Linked DNA regions of Homo sapiens: region 2 is linked to region 1. The links are contacts of gene promoters, found by promoter capture Hi-C in human tissues and cell types (Jung and others, 2019). All regions are on one chromosome and are shown on one strand. Each heading gives the region's core, a stretch centred on a gene start or on the middle of the fragment in contact. The rest is flanking DNA. Distances are from core to core; before and after follow the strand shown. Region 1 holds the start of PTGER3 (prostaglandin E receptor 3). Region 2 overlaps LOC105378793 (a long non-coding RNA gene).

Region 1 (6,958 bases), core at 4,388-6,887:
ATCTTGTCATTCAGGGACTAACCATCTAAATTTGTTTTCTTGAACATTTTTAAAACATCATTCCCATTGATCTAGTGTGCACCCTTTGTTCTCATTGGGCTGGGTTTTGGGACACACTTGCTCTCAGTCATGAAGTCATGAAATGAGGTTATGCCAATTCATCTTCCTGGAAATCTCCTCTGGCAAATTCAGACTGACTTTTTTCTGAGAGCCAAAGGCATTAATTACATCCTATCTTGTATTATAATTCTTTAAATATTTCACTCATAAATGTGGAAATTCTGCTTTTCTGAACAGATTATAACATTAATCAGTTTTATAATCATAGAATATTTTGTTGACCTTCACACCTTTTTCAAAAGAGAAAAATTATAGAATATTTTTCCTACAATGTGGATTCATATGTTTAATCACTTTCTCTGAAGCAACATCCTGAATATGGCAGAAAGTTGAGGCAGAAGAGATTAGCAATTGAATAATACTTTTATATGCTATAAAACAACATTATTTCTGAAAATAATTCATCATACATATCTACCACATGTGGCATATTAAAGGCAAATTTCGCTTGTCAAAATACATCAGTGACTCCTTAACTAAAATGAAAAAAAATCACAACTACATTGTGAAATATCTTCTTGAACTGAAACATCTCTGTATTTGTGGATACTGAGCAGGGAATTCAGTGGTTCAAGATTAAAGGCAAAAGTTTCTAAGGCTGCTTTTATCCAGTTCCAAGATTGATGATGAGAAACTGTTTGTTGCTCATACCTCACTTTTCATGATGTTCATAGCTGGCTTTGTATTTACTGTTTTTGAGATAGCTTACAGTATTAGCCACATTCTACCTGTTTGGGAGTGCCAAGTTATAAAAGTACAAAATGTACTCATAGCTTCCTTTGAACAAAATCCTAAGGTTATTCCCATTTCTGGAAATTTAGCTATCAGGTCAAACAACTGAGCTATGGTGAGCATCATTCATAAAATATAAAACATAAAATAATGATAAAAATCAAATAGATTGCATTGCTGGATGAACTGGCTGATTGCAACAGAATGACAATGTGATGCCTTACATAAGCAGTAACTAAAAACTGTAGGTCATCTATCATGGTGACATAATTTCCCACTGTACTCTCTTAATTTCACATTTTATATTGTATTTTGCAAAATTTCTGAGAAAAAGAAAAAGGAAACAAAGCTTTTGTTTAAGGATACATAAACCTCTATTTAAGTATTTATGTAGTGTGAACTTGTAGCTGTTGGGACATTTTCTTATTATGGTGTTTCTGTACTACCAAGTTTTCCTGCAGTAACAACTGAATATTTATTATAGTCATGATAGTCTTCCAGGATATACTCAGGGTCCTTTCAAGTAAGAAGTTTGGACAATTAGAATAGTATCCTACACCCAACTTAACGAATGCTAGCAGGAAACCTATATTACACTCATAGTTAGAAAAAACAGCGTTAATCTCTCATTTTAACACTAATATGCTGAAAATTCAATTCACTAAATTCTAGTGTTTTTATTCTTATAATTCTCTATTAAGAAAGCAGCTTTGCCAGTTTCTTTTCTTTGTAGTAATTCCAACTTTGTACAGTAAATCTTTTTGAAGATATTTGGAGTTTTTTTTTTGTTTTTTGTTTTTTTTTTAGAGGGAGTCCTGCTCTGTCACCCGTGCTGGAGTGCAGTGGCGTGATCTCGGCTCACAGCAACCTCTGTCTCCCTAGCCTAAGTAATTCTCCTGCATCAGCCTCCCGAGTAACTGAGATTACAGGCGCATGCCACCATGCCCCGCTAATTTTTGTATTTTTAGTAGAGGCGGGGTTTGGCCATGTTGGAATGCTGGTCTCGAACTGCTGACCTCAAATGATCCACTCACCTCGGCCTCCCAAAGTGCTGGGATTACAGGCGTGAGCCACTGCGCCCAGCCGATGGAACCATTTTCTTTAAAAAGTTCTCATTTCTCCTAGGCCGGGCACGGTGGCTCATGCCTGTAATCCCAGCACTTTGGGTGGCCGAGGTGGGCGGATCACCTCAGGTCAGGAGTTCGAGACCAGCCTGGCCAACATGGTGAAACCCCATCTCTACTAAAAATACAAAAATTAGCCAGGTGTGGTGGCGGGCGCCTGTAATCCTAGTGACTCCAAAGGCTGAGGCAGTAGAATCACTTGCACCTGGGAGGTGGAGGCTGCAGAGAGCTGAGATCTCACCACTGCACTCCAGCCTGGAGTTTTTTTTTTTGAGACAGAGTCTCAAAAAAAAAAAAAATTCTCCTTTTTGATATGATCACATGTTTAATTTATTTTGTTTAATGTTTTTATAATTGAATTAATAAAGTACCCAGTAAAATGCTATAAATCAATAAGTATTATCCAAATGAAAATAAATTGAAATTAAGTAAGACTAGTTTCAAATGCAGTCTTTCTTGAAAGAGTGAGTTTGGCCATCCTAAATTACAGTTTTCAAGATTGATCTACTTTCTTTCTGAGGCCACCATACTTTTGGTACTAGAATTAAAGTGTCTAAATCAAAAACACACTACATGGCTTCGCTTTGACTTAAAAACAAAATGCACAAACAATAAATTATAAGTCTGATTAACTGTATGGGTATTTTGTTCAATTGATTTAACTGCATTTTTTTTCCCTAGGATATAAATCATGTGATACAGCAAACTCAAAGATGTGGGACTCAAATGACACTTGTGAAAAACTGATACCCTGTTTGCCTTTAAAGTTATATTAATTACCACACTTTAGTAAAGTGTTTACTATTTAGAACTCTTTCTTCCTTCCTAGTTGGCCACCTGTACACTCCATTCCTCAGCCATAAAAGTAAATACTGTATATCTAAAACTGGTGCTGGTTTTGATAAGCCATAGTGATGACATCAGCCTGAGTTCCAACTCCTGGAATAAAGAACTGTGACCATACAGCGACTTGTGGGCAGTTAGGTCTCAGCATAACACTCCTTGTCCCCTCATGTCACTGATTTGGAGCCAAGGTTTGTGCTCCAATCTACCAAACCAGGTTAAAGAAATTACATTTCTATTTTCAAATGCAAGGGATTTAAAAGTATACATGGCGCACAAAAAACTCAACGTACTTAATGCCTAATGCCACTGAACTGTACACATAATAATGGTTAAAATACTGAATTGTATGTAATATATTTTACCATAATTAGGAAAGAAAAAAAACTGCGTTCACGTGTTTCAAAGGTTTTCCACAACTGTATAATACATATAGTTGGTTATACCTTTGTAACAGTGACCATATCGCTCTTTCTGCAACATCTATTAACCCAGACACCCCAGGGCCTAAGTAAGCATCCATTCTTCAGGAATTAGTAAACAGCACTTACACACGGACATTTCTAGCTAAAAGTAACACAGACAAAAAAACCTCAAAAATATCACGTAAGGGCAGGTGTTAGGCAAAGAGCCTCTGCAAACATCCCTTGCTCCTCTGCATTGCTCTGGTGTGAGGAGCTAGGACATGGAGAAACCTCTACCTCCTATCTCAGGATTAGCGAACCCTGCTTGAGTGCTACAAGGGTAAGTAAATGCTGGCCTGAAGAAGCTGCTGAGCTTCCGGATCCCACTGACTGTCGTTCGGGCACTTCCTAGAGGGTCAAGCACCATGGCGAAAGGCTGAGGAGGCAACTCGTATCTTTCATTCTCCTGCCTCATCAAGAATGAACCTTGAAGGCACCCATAGGTCGCGCAGTCTTTCAGAAGCTGCAGGAGGGCTGTGACTGTATGGGGTTGCAGACTGAAAATCTTATTAACGTGAAAGAGGAATTTGAAATTAAAAAAAAAAAACCCGGCCGGGCGCGGTGGCTCACGCTTGTAATCCCAGCACTTTGGGAGGCCGAGGCGGGTGGATCACGAGGTCAGGAGATCGAGACCACGGTGAAACCCCGTCTCTACTAAAAATAAAAAAAAAAAATTAGCCGGGCGTGGTGGCGGGCGCCTGTAGTCCCAGCTACTCGGAGAGGCTGAGGCAGGAGAATGGCGTGAACCCGGGAGGCGGAGCTTGCAGTGAGCCGAGGCTGCGCCACTGTACTCCAGCCTGGGTGACAGAGCGAGACTCCGTCTCAAAAAAAAAAAAAAAAAAAAACCCCACAATATCAGGCTACAGTTATCATAGCAATTCTGCTTTTAATGCACTCAGGACAAACTTCTAGCTCTGCATATATGTCATTTCAATGACACATCCTGTCTCCTACCCGACTAGAATGTGAGCAGCCCTGTGATCTCTATGTGCTCATAAACAGTGCCTAATGCGAATCCTGGCTCTTGGAAGGCGCTCAGCTAGTAAGTGAGGAGCTCAGCTCTGAAGCTGTAACCAAGACCGCGCGGGCAGGAGGAAAGGACACTTCAGCGCTCTGCGGTTGCAAACACACCCCTGCGGGTGCTGCCACTTAGCAAAGTCTTAGGTTCCCGCTTACTCGCACACGCATCCTGACTTCCCCCAACCCTGGAACTACCTACCAGGAGCGGAGACCAGCAGACCGACAGCACGCACATGATCCCCATAAGCTGAATGGCCGTCTCGGTCGTGATGCGGCCCCACTGGGCACTGGACTGAGATGCCGTGGCCTTGGCCCGGCAGCGGGACACCAGGGCCTTAATGGTGGCCAGGTTGCAGGAAAAGGTGACTGTCAGCGCCAAGAGCCCCAGGAAGGCAAAGGCAGAGGCGAAGAAAAGGTTGCCCCAGTTATGCGAAGAGCTAGTCCCGTTGCCCCCTCGCCCGGTGCTGATGAAGCACCACGTCCCGGGCCACTGGACGGTGTACTGGCCCACGCCCAGCACCGGCAGCAGGGCGAAGGCGAGCACGGCCAGCCACACGCCGAGCAGCACAGCGCGGGTGGCACGCGTCTTCATGTGGCTCGCATACCAGTGCGGCGCCCTGATGGCCAGCGCCCGCTCGACGGCCATGGCGCTGGCGATGAACAACGAGGAGAGCCCGAAAACAGTCATGGTCAGCCCGAAAAAGGTGCAGAGCCGCCCCGACGGGTCGATGTGCTCCCAACGCTGCTTGGACAGGTACACGACGATGACGACCGGGGTGGTGAGAAGCTGCCCGACCAGGTCGGTGAGCGCCAGCCAGCCGATGCACAGCAGGAAGGACTTCTTGCGCTTGCTCTCCCGGCGCCGGTAGCTGCGCGACACGAGCAGCATGGCCAGTGCGTTGCCCACGAAACCAGTGAGCAGCATGGTGATCGGGAAGGCCACGGACACCGATCCGCAATCCTCGCCAGACCCTGGAGGGCGCGTGAGGTTGCCCCGCGCCTCGGCGGAACGCTCGGGCGCCCACATGCCTGTGTAGGAGTGGTTGAGGCGGGTGCAGAAGGGGGCATCCCCTCCGTAGCCCCGGGTCTCCTTCATGTTGGCTTCGAGGTGAGGAGGGGATGGCGTCCAGAGAGCCGCAGCGGGAGGGGGCAGACGCGGCGCGGGCGGCGGCGGAGGTCGGCGTTTACCGCGGCTGGGGCTGGGCTGCCCCCCATGGTGCGGGGCGCAGCCGCCGCCCTACTCCGCTGCTGGGACCGCGGCCGCGGCGGCGCCAGGGCTCACTGGCCCGGGAGGGAGCCACGCCTTCCTCTCTGGGAAACCTCTGGTGGCGAGGCGCGCGGAGGTGCCGAGTCCCCTTTATAAGGCCGAGGGGGCGGGGCGCCCGTGGGTGTGGACAGAACCGAGGTGGGAGGAGGGTGCAAAGCAACTGAGCGCCTCTCTTGGCTGTTGCCTATCCTGATCGCCTGGGTTGGGAAGCCCCAGACGGTCTCCTCTGAAACGCCCTGCTCCTGGCCGGACCGGGAGCCCACTGGGGTCTCCTCCAGTTCTCCGCTAAAGTGTCGGTGGACGGCAAGCAGCTAATAAGTAGCACTGGACTTGCGGACCCCAGGCAAACTGCCGAGGCGCACCTGAGCGCTCGTCCTCCTGCTTCTTCAACCACAAACGCTCCTACAGGGACGGGATCCTTCTCCTGAAGTCCTTTAGTAACTCTGGTAAAGTGAAAATCGCCTGTCCTTAAGCAATCCACACAAGCCTTTGCATAGCTGATCGTTAACTTTTTTCCTTTCTGCTTTGTGACTCTAGAGTGATTATAAAAAGGCCAAGGTGTCCTGTCCCCTGGGGTGCCGCTGAAAACTATAAAATTACTAGACAGTGCCTGTAGACTTAAGGGAATAGACACAGGGAAACAAATACATCGGATGGTTGAATTCCAAGACCAAGAAATCCCAACTACTACCCCTCGCCTAATCCTGCCCGCTCCCCTCCCCACCACCCAACAAAAAGGTCAGCTATGGCAAAAGTGGCTACAGGAAGGTGGCATCAATTTGCATATCTGAGGTAGTGAAATCAACTGCTCCCAGCCTATGGGAGTGAGAGGGGAGCAGAAGAGAAAGGTATTCCTTACAAAGCCTCCAACCATCCTTCTTATCTTCATACAATAAGAACTAGAAAAGGTATTCAGATGTTATGAAGGCCTTAATCTATATGGAAACTTTGCCTTTGAAATAATAAACATTGAATGAAAATAGGCATACTTGCTTGCCTCGTAACATCTTTCAGTAAGCCAATATTTTATGTACTTCTCACAAGCATTTTCTCATTTTATCACAGAAATCCTCCAAGGTACTATTGCTATTATTATTTCCCTTAAAGGTGGGGTAACTGAGGCCCCATGAAGTTAAAGAATGTTCCTGAAGTCTCTCAGCAATTCTCAAGTCCCATCTTATTTGAAGCATGTATTCCTGACATGGGTCCCATAACTGCTCTCAGCAGATGAATATTAACGGTGAGATCATCTTCCCCTAATCTTGGGAAAGTCTTGTGTTTTTTGCTTTTTGCCTTTTTACACTGTCTAAGAGATGAAAAGATTTTTAAAAATAATTGCAAAGTTCATTTTTCCTCATATTTAAGAAATTAGACTTAATCATATAGCA
Region 2 (6,626 bases), core at 645-3,144, 590 kb before region 1:
GCCTAATTTAATGTGAAAGCTCAAAAAACTTTCTGCTTAACTAGAAAATCCTTCCTCTGGACATACTCAGGGCTACTTGCAATGTGATTAGTGACATCCTTCTTTAGTAGCAGAAAAGAAACATTCCCTGGAGCTCTCAGAGGTCATTAAACAGATGTCCAATTATTGTCTAGATGACGTTTGGCAATATCACTACCAGATGGCTTTATTCTGGTTATCTTCCAATTTTTATGTCTCTACCCCTATTTATCTTCATGGGGTTCTTTCTGTAGTTAACAACAACTACGTCTCTAGGAAATCTACATCACAGAACATATTGGTCTTGAGTTGGTTTCCTCAAGACTGTAGTTCTTTCTATATACATATGTAAATGAGACAGGGTCTCACTTCATTGCCCAGGCTGGTGTCAAACTCCTGGGCTCACATAATCCTCCCGCCTCAGTCTCCCAAAATGCTGGGATTACAGGTGTGAGCCACTGCACCTGGCCATGCAAGGCATTTTATAGAAAGTGTTGGAGTGTGTGGGAAATAAAGTAAATGAAAAAAATTTGTACAAGAAAGTAAATGTAGTCATGACACTCCACTTGACTCAACAGTGATGAATATTTACATAATTATAAGAATGAAACTTCTGTGTTTGGCTTTAAATGAGACAGAAAGAGAAGGAGAGAAAGAATTATATTGGGAGGAATAGAAGAAGGGGAAGATGGTGAGTGAAATAATTTACCATATTGGAAAGTTAGTAAATAACTAAAATGTGATGAATTGAGAGATAGTGATACACACATACCATTTAGAGTTTTAAAAGTAATATTAAAGAAATGTTAAAACTGCAAGTAGGACAACAAGGTTGGCAGGCAAGTAGAACTTGGAGCTATTATTTTGTTATTGTGGTAAGCCTTTTAGCTCTGCATAAACCTAAAAAAATTTTGTAAACATAATACTCTGATTAAAAATCAGTATTAATTAAAAAATTAGCCAGGTGTGGTGGTGCATGCCTGTAGTCCCAGCTACTTGGGAGGCTGAAGCAGAAGAATCACTTGAACCTGGGAGGTGGAGGTTGCAGTGAGCCAAGATCATGCTAGCAGTGAGCTGAGATCACGCCACCGCACTCCAGCCTGGGTGACACAGCGAGACTGCATCTCGAACAAACAAACAAAAATTAGTACTAATTAAAACAATCTATTGAGGAAAAGTTCTGTGTATAATTTTTTGTTTTGCTTAGTTTCAAGTCAGTTCTACCTAAAATAGATGGTGGTAGAAATTTAACAATTATCCTTAGAATTTAGATATAAAGATACATTGGATAATTAAAAGTAAAAACTAAAAATACTAGGAAAGTCAATTCACAGTGGTTAAGAGCCACCATACACTTTTCATACCATTTAACAGGTGTATTAGTCTGTTCTTATACTGCTAATAAAGACATTCCCAAGACTGGGTAATTTATAAAGGAAAGAGGTTTAATGGACTCACAGTTCCATATGGCTGGGGAGGCTTCACAAATCATGGCAAATGGCAAAGGAGAAGTAAAGTCACATCTTACATGGTGGCAGGCAAGAGAGCTTGTGTAGGGGAACTCCCATTTATAAAACCATCAGATCTCATGAGACTTATTCACTATCATGAGAACAGCTTTGGAAAGACCTGCCGCCGTGATTCATTTGTCTCCCACCAGGCCCTTCCCATGACCTACAGGAATTATGGGAGCTACAATGCAAGATGAGATTTGGGTGGGGACACAACCAAACCATATCAACAAGATATACTAAATGATCAAAATTCCTATATAACAGATAGCATATTATGACTAGAGAGGATCCTAGAAGTCCTTATATATTTTATCTTTTTTTTTTAAGACATTTTCCAGCTTGTCATGGTGGCTCATATCTGTAATCCCAGCACTTTGGGAGGATGAGGTGGGACAACCACTTGAGCCCTGGGGTTCGAGACAAGCCTGAGTAACACAGTGAGACATCATCTCATAAAAAAAAAAAAAGACAGAAGAAACATCTTATTGCCTTGAAAAAAATGTGAATCATATTTTGTTTTATAGACAGAAATTGATTACATGAAGAATCAAGTGGTTTGTTAAAAATATTGCTGTTTTAAAAAAACTTATGTGATAGAAAGTTACTATTTCATCAGTTAGTTTTGTCAAAGTCAAATAAAAATGTAGAGACAAATCTATACACAAAAGGTTTAATTTGAGAAAATAGAGTTGCAATTTGTGGTATACAAACAGCCTGGTGTGGTTTTTAGTATATCTGAAGAACAAAGAGAAGGTTGAGTGTTTTATTAGAAAGATACATGTTACATATTGTTTTGTAAGGAGCTTACTGGCAGTAGTGAAGTTTCTGGGAGCTGGCAAGCTCTGGTGAATGATGGCAGTAGGAAAAACTAACCTTAGAGTCATGGCAGGTCATTTAGGTAGCTGCTAGGTAAAAATGGTCTTACATTGCACAGGCCATTTCAGCAGCTGAGCTTGCAGGAGAATTCTTGAAGCAGGTGCTATGTACCCTGAGTGCTTTTTCCCCTGGTTCCTCCATTCCGATTCACTTGGGTATGACAAAAATAACTCAATTCATACCACCAGTTTTCAGTTTATTCTATATTATAAAACATTAGGATTGATTTGTTAATATATGAGCTGCTCTTATAAAAGGATCGTATTTTAGTGATCTGATCATTAGGGCTTTCTTTTAATTTCAAGTTGTACTTACCTGGGCTCTTGGATCACGGTGAGTAGCATGCCAACACCAAGGACATAGCTCTTTGGAAAGACTTTAATTTAAAATATTTTCCTTCCTTTTTTGTAGGCTGGATCAGGAAGCTGTTTCTGGTCTAGAAATGAAGTGTTGTCATGTTCACATCCAGCCAGCTTGGGGTCTGAAGGGAAGTGTACAATCTGTGAGAAGACTGTGTGCTACTCTGCAAATTGCAGATAATTACTCTGAACAGAGAAGTCCTTTGAAGTTGCTGCATGAGGTCAGTAGAAAGTGTGTGAAGCACCCACATGAAATGAATCTTTTGTTCATTACTTCTGTGCTCACAGAGGGGTTGACTGCATTGGGTTATTCATCTTCTTTCCCTATGGAAACTGACTGTGGAGTTCTGTGCCAGGCCCAGCATGCATCTTCTTCCCAGGCTGCCAGATTTCACAGAATGTTAAATAAAATCTGCTTTTATTTGCCCATAACTGCTCTTCTGTGGGTTTACTCAGAAATAAGACCTGTTAAAAATGAATTACTTTTTAGAAAACTAGCACAGTTTAAAACCCTTATTGCACTTGGGGCAAACTGAACTTAGTATGCTGTTGTGCAGCAGGCGATTGTTGAAAAATGCTGAAAAATAAAGCAGAGAGCAAGGGCCAGAAGCTCCTCTCAACATGGAAAGGGTGTTGAGAGCAAAGTGGTCCTACAGTTTAGTTTTGCAGACACCCAAACTTGCCCTTCTCTGGAAGTTAAAATGTTCTTAGAGAAATAAATAAATAAAATTCCAAATATGTTACATTGATGGTCTGAAAGAGATGGGAAAAAAGTCTTGGGGAATATTTCATATGAAGGCAATATCTGATCTTCTAAGAAATATCTTCTGAAGAAACTGGTTAAAAAATTAAGACTCCTTTGAGGGATGTAGTCTTGGTTACCTTGCTGCCAGAGCGGCAGACTAAAGATCACTAGCTTGTAGTCAGTCATGTTTGTATGCACCCATTTTCCACTCAATGACAAAGGGATTCAAGCTTAGGTTCTGGGTATCAATTTGCAGATGTGTCTATCTGCTTTTCCTAATTCCTCTAGTTCATTCTGCCCTCTCCCCTTTCCTGTTTTTTTTTTTTTTTTCCTGCAGTTTATTTGCTCTACCTAACACTGACTTTAAACTAGAAAAAGCGTTTTATTGCTTTCAGATTCTTTCAGACATATTCTTCTTGCCTCTGTAATGAAATGAAGCACTTTTCTGATGGCAAGACACATGCCTTTTTTTGACTCAATACCCCAATATTAAATCATTAATGTAAATAATTTTTATATTCATTTTCTGTTACTGCTTAGTACACCTGGCACATGGTAGGGTGTCCCCACATAATTCATTATCCAAAGTGAGACACTTCTGGGAACAAAAAGGTATGCAGTTAGTAGTTATACTAAGACACCAGGTGCAAATTGAAATGTAAGTTCAGTTTATCAATAAACATTTGTGAAATATAATTTATTTCTTTGGTGATATCCTGCCCATTATAATTAACTTTTACCTTTCTAATCTCAGGAATCTTCTTATGGCTGCTTGAATAACTTCTTTCCTTTTTAGAGCCTTTTTGTTTTTTTTCCTGAGATTTTTACTGTTTGTCGAGACAGGCTGTCAGTCTGTAACCAGGTTGATGTACAGTGGTGTAATCATAGCTCACTGCAGCCTTGATCTCCCAGGTTCAAGGGATCCTCCCACCTCAGACTCCTGAGTAGCCGGGACTACTGGTGTGTGCCATCATGCTTGGCTATTTTTTTTAATTATTTTTTTTTTAGTAGGTACGAGGATTTGCTATGTTGCCCAGGCTCGTCTTGAACTCCTGAGCTCAAGTGATCCTTTTGCCTTGGTCTCCCAAAGTGTTGGGATTAGAGGAGTGAGCCACCATGCCTGACCAAGATTGTACTTCCTAAAACCACATTAGATGACTCATGACTTATCACAGGCCTGGAGGCCTAGGAGAGGAGAATGGCTTCATGAGCCAGGCTCAGGGCCCTGCTCCTCTGTGCAGCCTTGGGACATAGCTCCCTGCATCCTGGCCTCTCCAGCTTCAGCCATGGCTCCAAGAGGCCCAGATATAGCTTGTCTGCTGCTTCAGAGAATGCAAGTGATTAGCCTGGCTGGTTTCCTCATGGTATTAAGCTGGCTGATGCACAGAGTACAAGAGTTGAGGCTTGGGAGCCTCTGCCTAGATTTCAGAGGATGTATCTGAAATGTATGGGAAAGCCTGGATGTTTAGGCAGAAGACTGCTGCAGGGGTAGAGCCCTCATGGAGAACCTCTACTAGGGAAGTGCAGAGGGAAAATGTGAGGTTGGTGGCCCCACAGAGTTCTCACTGGGGCACTGCCTCTTGGAGCTGTGAGAAGAGGGCTGAAGGGGTGGCCTGCCCCTCCACACTTGTGGGAGTTTCTCGTCGGGTGGAATGAGAGACTTAAGAAAAGAAAGAGACACAGAGACAAAGTATAGAGAAAGAAAAATGGGCCCAGGGAACCGGTGCTCGGCATACGGAGGACCCACGCCGGCACCAGTCTCTGAGTTCCCTTAGTACTTATTGATCATTATCGGGCGTTTCTCGGAGAGGGGGATGTGGCAGGACAATAGGGTAATAGTGGAGAGAAGGTCAGCAGGAAAACATGTGAACAAATGTCTCTGTATCATAAACAAGGTAAAGAAAAAAGTGCTGTGCTTTTGATGTGCATATACATAAATATCTCAATGCCTTAAAGAGCAGTATTGCTGCCAGCATGTCCCACCTCCAGCCCTAAGGCAGTTTTCCCCTATCTCGGTAGATGGAATATACAATCGGGCTTTACACCGAGACATTCCATTGCCCAGGGATGAGCAGGAGACAGATGCCTTCCTCTTATCTCAACTGCAAAGAGGCCTTCCTTCCTCTTTTACTAATCCTCCTCAGCACAGACCCTTTACGGGTGTCGGGCTGGGGGATGGTCAGGTCTTTCCCTTCTCATGAAGCCATATTTCAGACTATCACATGGGGAGAAACCTTGGACAATACCTGGCTTTCCTAGGCAGAGGTCCTTGTGGCCTTCCGCAGTGTATTGTGTCTCTGGGTACTTGAGATTAGGGAGTGGTGATGACCCTTAACGAGCATGCTGCCTTCAAGCATTTGTTTAACAAAGCACATCCTGCACAGCCCTTAATCCATTTAACCCTGAGTTGGCACAGCACATGTTTCAGGGAGCACAGGGTTGGGGGTAGGGTTACAGATTAATACCATCTCAAGGCAGAAGAATTTTTCTTAGTACAGAACAAAATGGAGTCTCTTATGTCTACTTCTTTCTACACAGACAGAGTAACAGTCTGATCTCTCTTTCTTTTCCCCATAGAGGGCCACCATCCTCCAGACCCCAGAATGGTAGATCCACTGGCAGCTTGCACCATGTGCCTGCAAAAGCTGCAGGCACTCAAAGCTAGACCTTGAGAGCAGCTGCTGGGGCTGAATCCTGCAAAGCCACAGGGCTGGAGCTGCCAAGGCCTTGGGAGCCCACACACTGCGTCACTGTGTCCCAGATTGGAGTCAGAGGAGATTATTTTGGAGCTTTAATTTTTAATGACTGCAGGGCAGTCATTAAATTTTTTTTATATAATTTTTTTACATAAAAGTCCAGCTCCCCCTTTGCCTTCCACCATGATTGTATGTTTCCTGAGGCCTCCCCAGCCATTTGAACTGTGAGTCAATTAAACCTCCTCCTTTCTTTATAAAGTACCGAGTCTCAGGTGGTATCTTTATAGCAGTGTGAAAACAGACTAATACAGAAAATTGGTACCAGGAGTGGAGTACTTCTACACAGATAACCTGGAAATGTGGATGTGACTTTGGAACTGGGTATTGAGCAGAGGTTGGAAGAGTTTGGAGGGCTTAG

The links. The method cuts DNA at HindIII sites, captures the fragments that hold promoters and counts their contacts. A contact is called where the count stands out against the background at its distance.
Region 2: a fragment that was not itself captured here is called in contact with the fragment with the promoter of PTGER3 in region 1 in 1 of the 25 tissues and cell types used here (hippocampus).

The regions. Positions count from the first base shown.
Region 1 is chr1:71,042,179-71,049,136 of GRCh38, forward strand. PTGER3 (prostaglandin E receptor 3) reads right to left here and starts at 5,638. Exons shown (of 4, transcript NM_198719.2): 1 at 4,503-5,638. The coding sequence starts at 5,399. It overlaps ZRANB2-AS1 (ZRANB2 antisense RNA 1), which reads left to right and starts at 4,328. Exons shown (of 3, transcript NR_038420.1): 1 at 4,328-5,411; 2 at 6,636-6,810. RefSeq lists an enhancer at 5,052-5,635. The HindIII fragment of the contact is 12,323 bases long and covers 1-6,958 here.
Region 2 is chr1:70,455,312-70,461,937 of GRCh38, forward strand. LOC105378793 (a long non-coding RNA gene) reads left to right here. Exons shown (of 3, transcript XR_947499.2): 2 at 2,820-2,988; 3 at 6,090-6,285. Among named protein-coding and RNA genes, the nearest start is that of CTH, 47 kb to the left of the region's middle. RefSeq lists a silencer at 3,582-3,782 and an enhancer at 4,498-5,304. The HindIII fragment of the contact is 9,520 bases long and covers 1-6,626 here.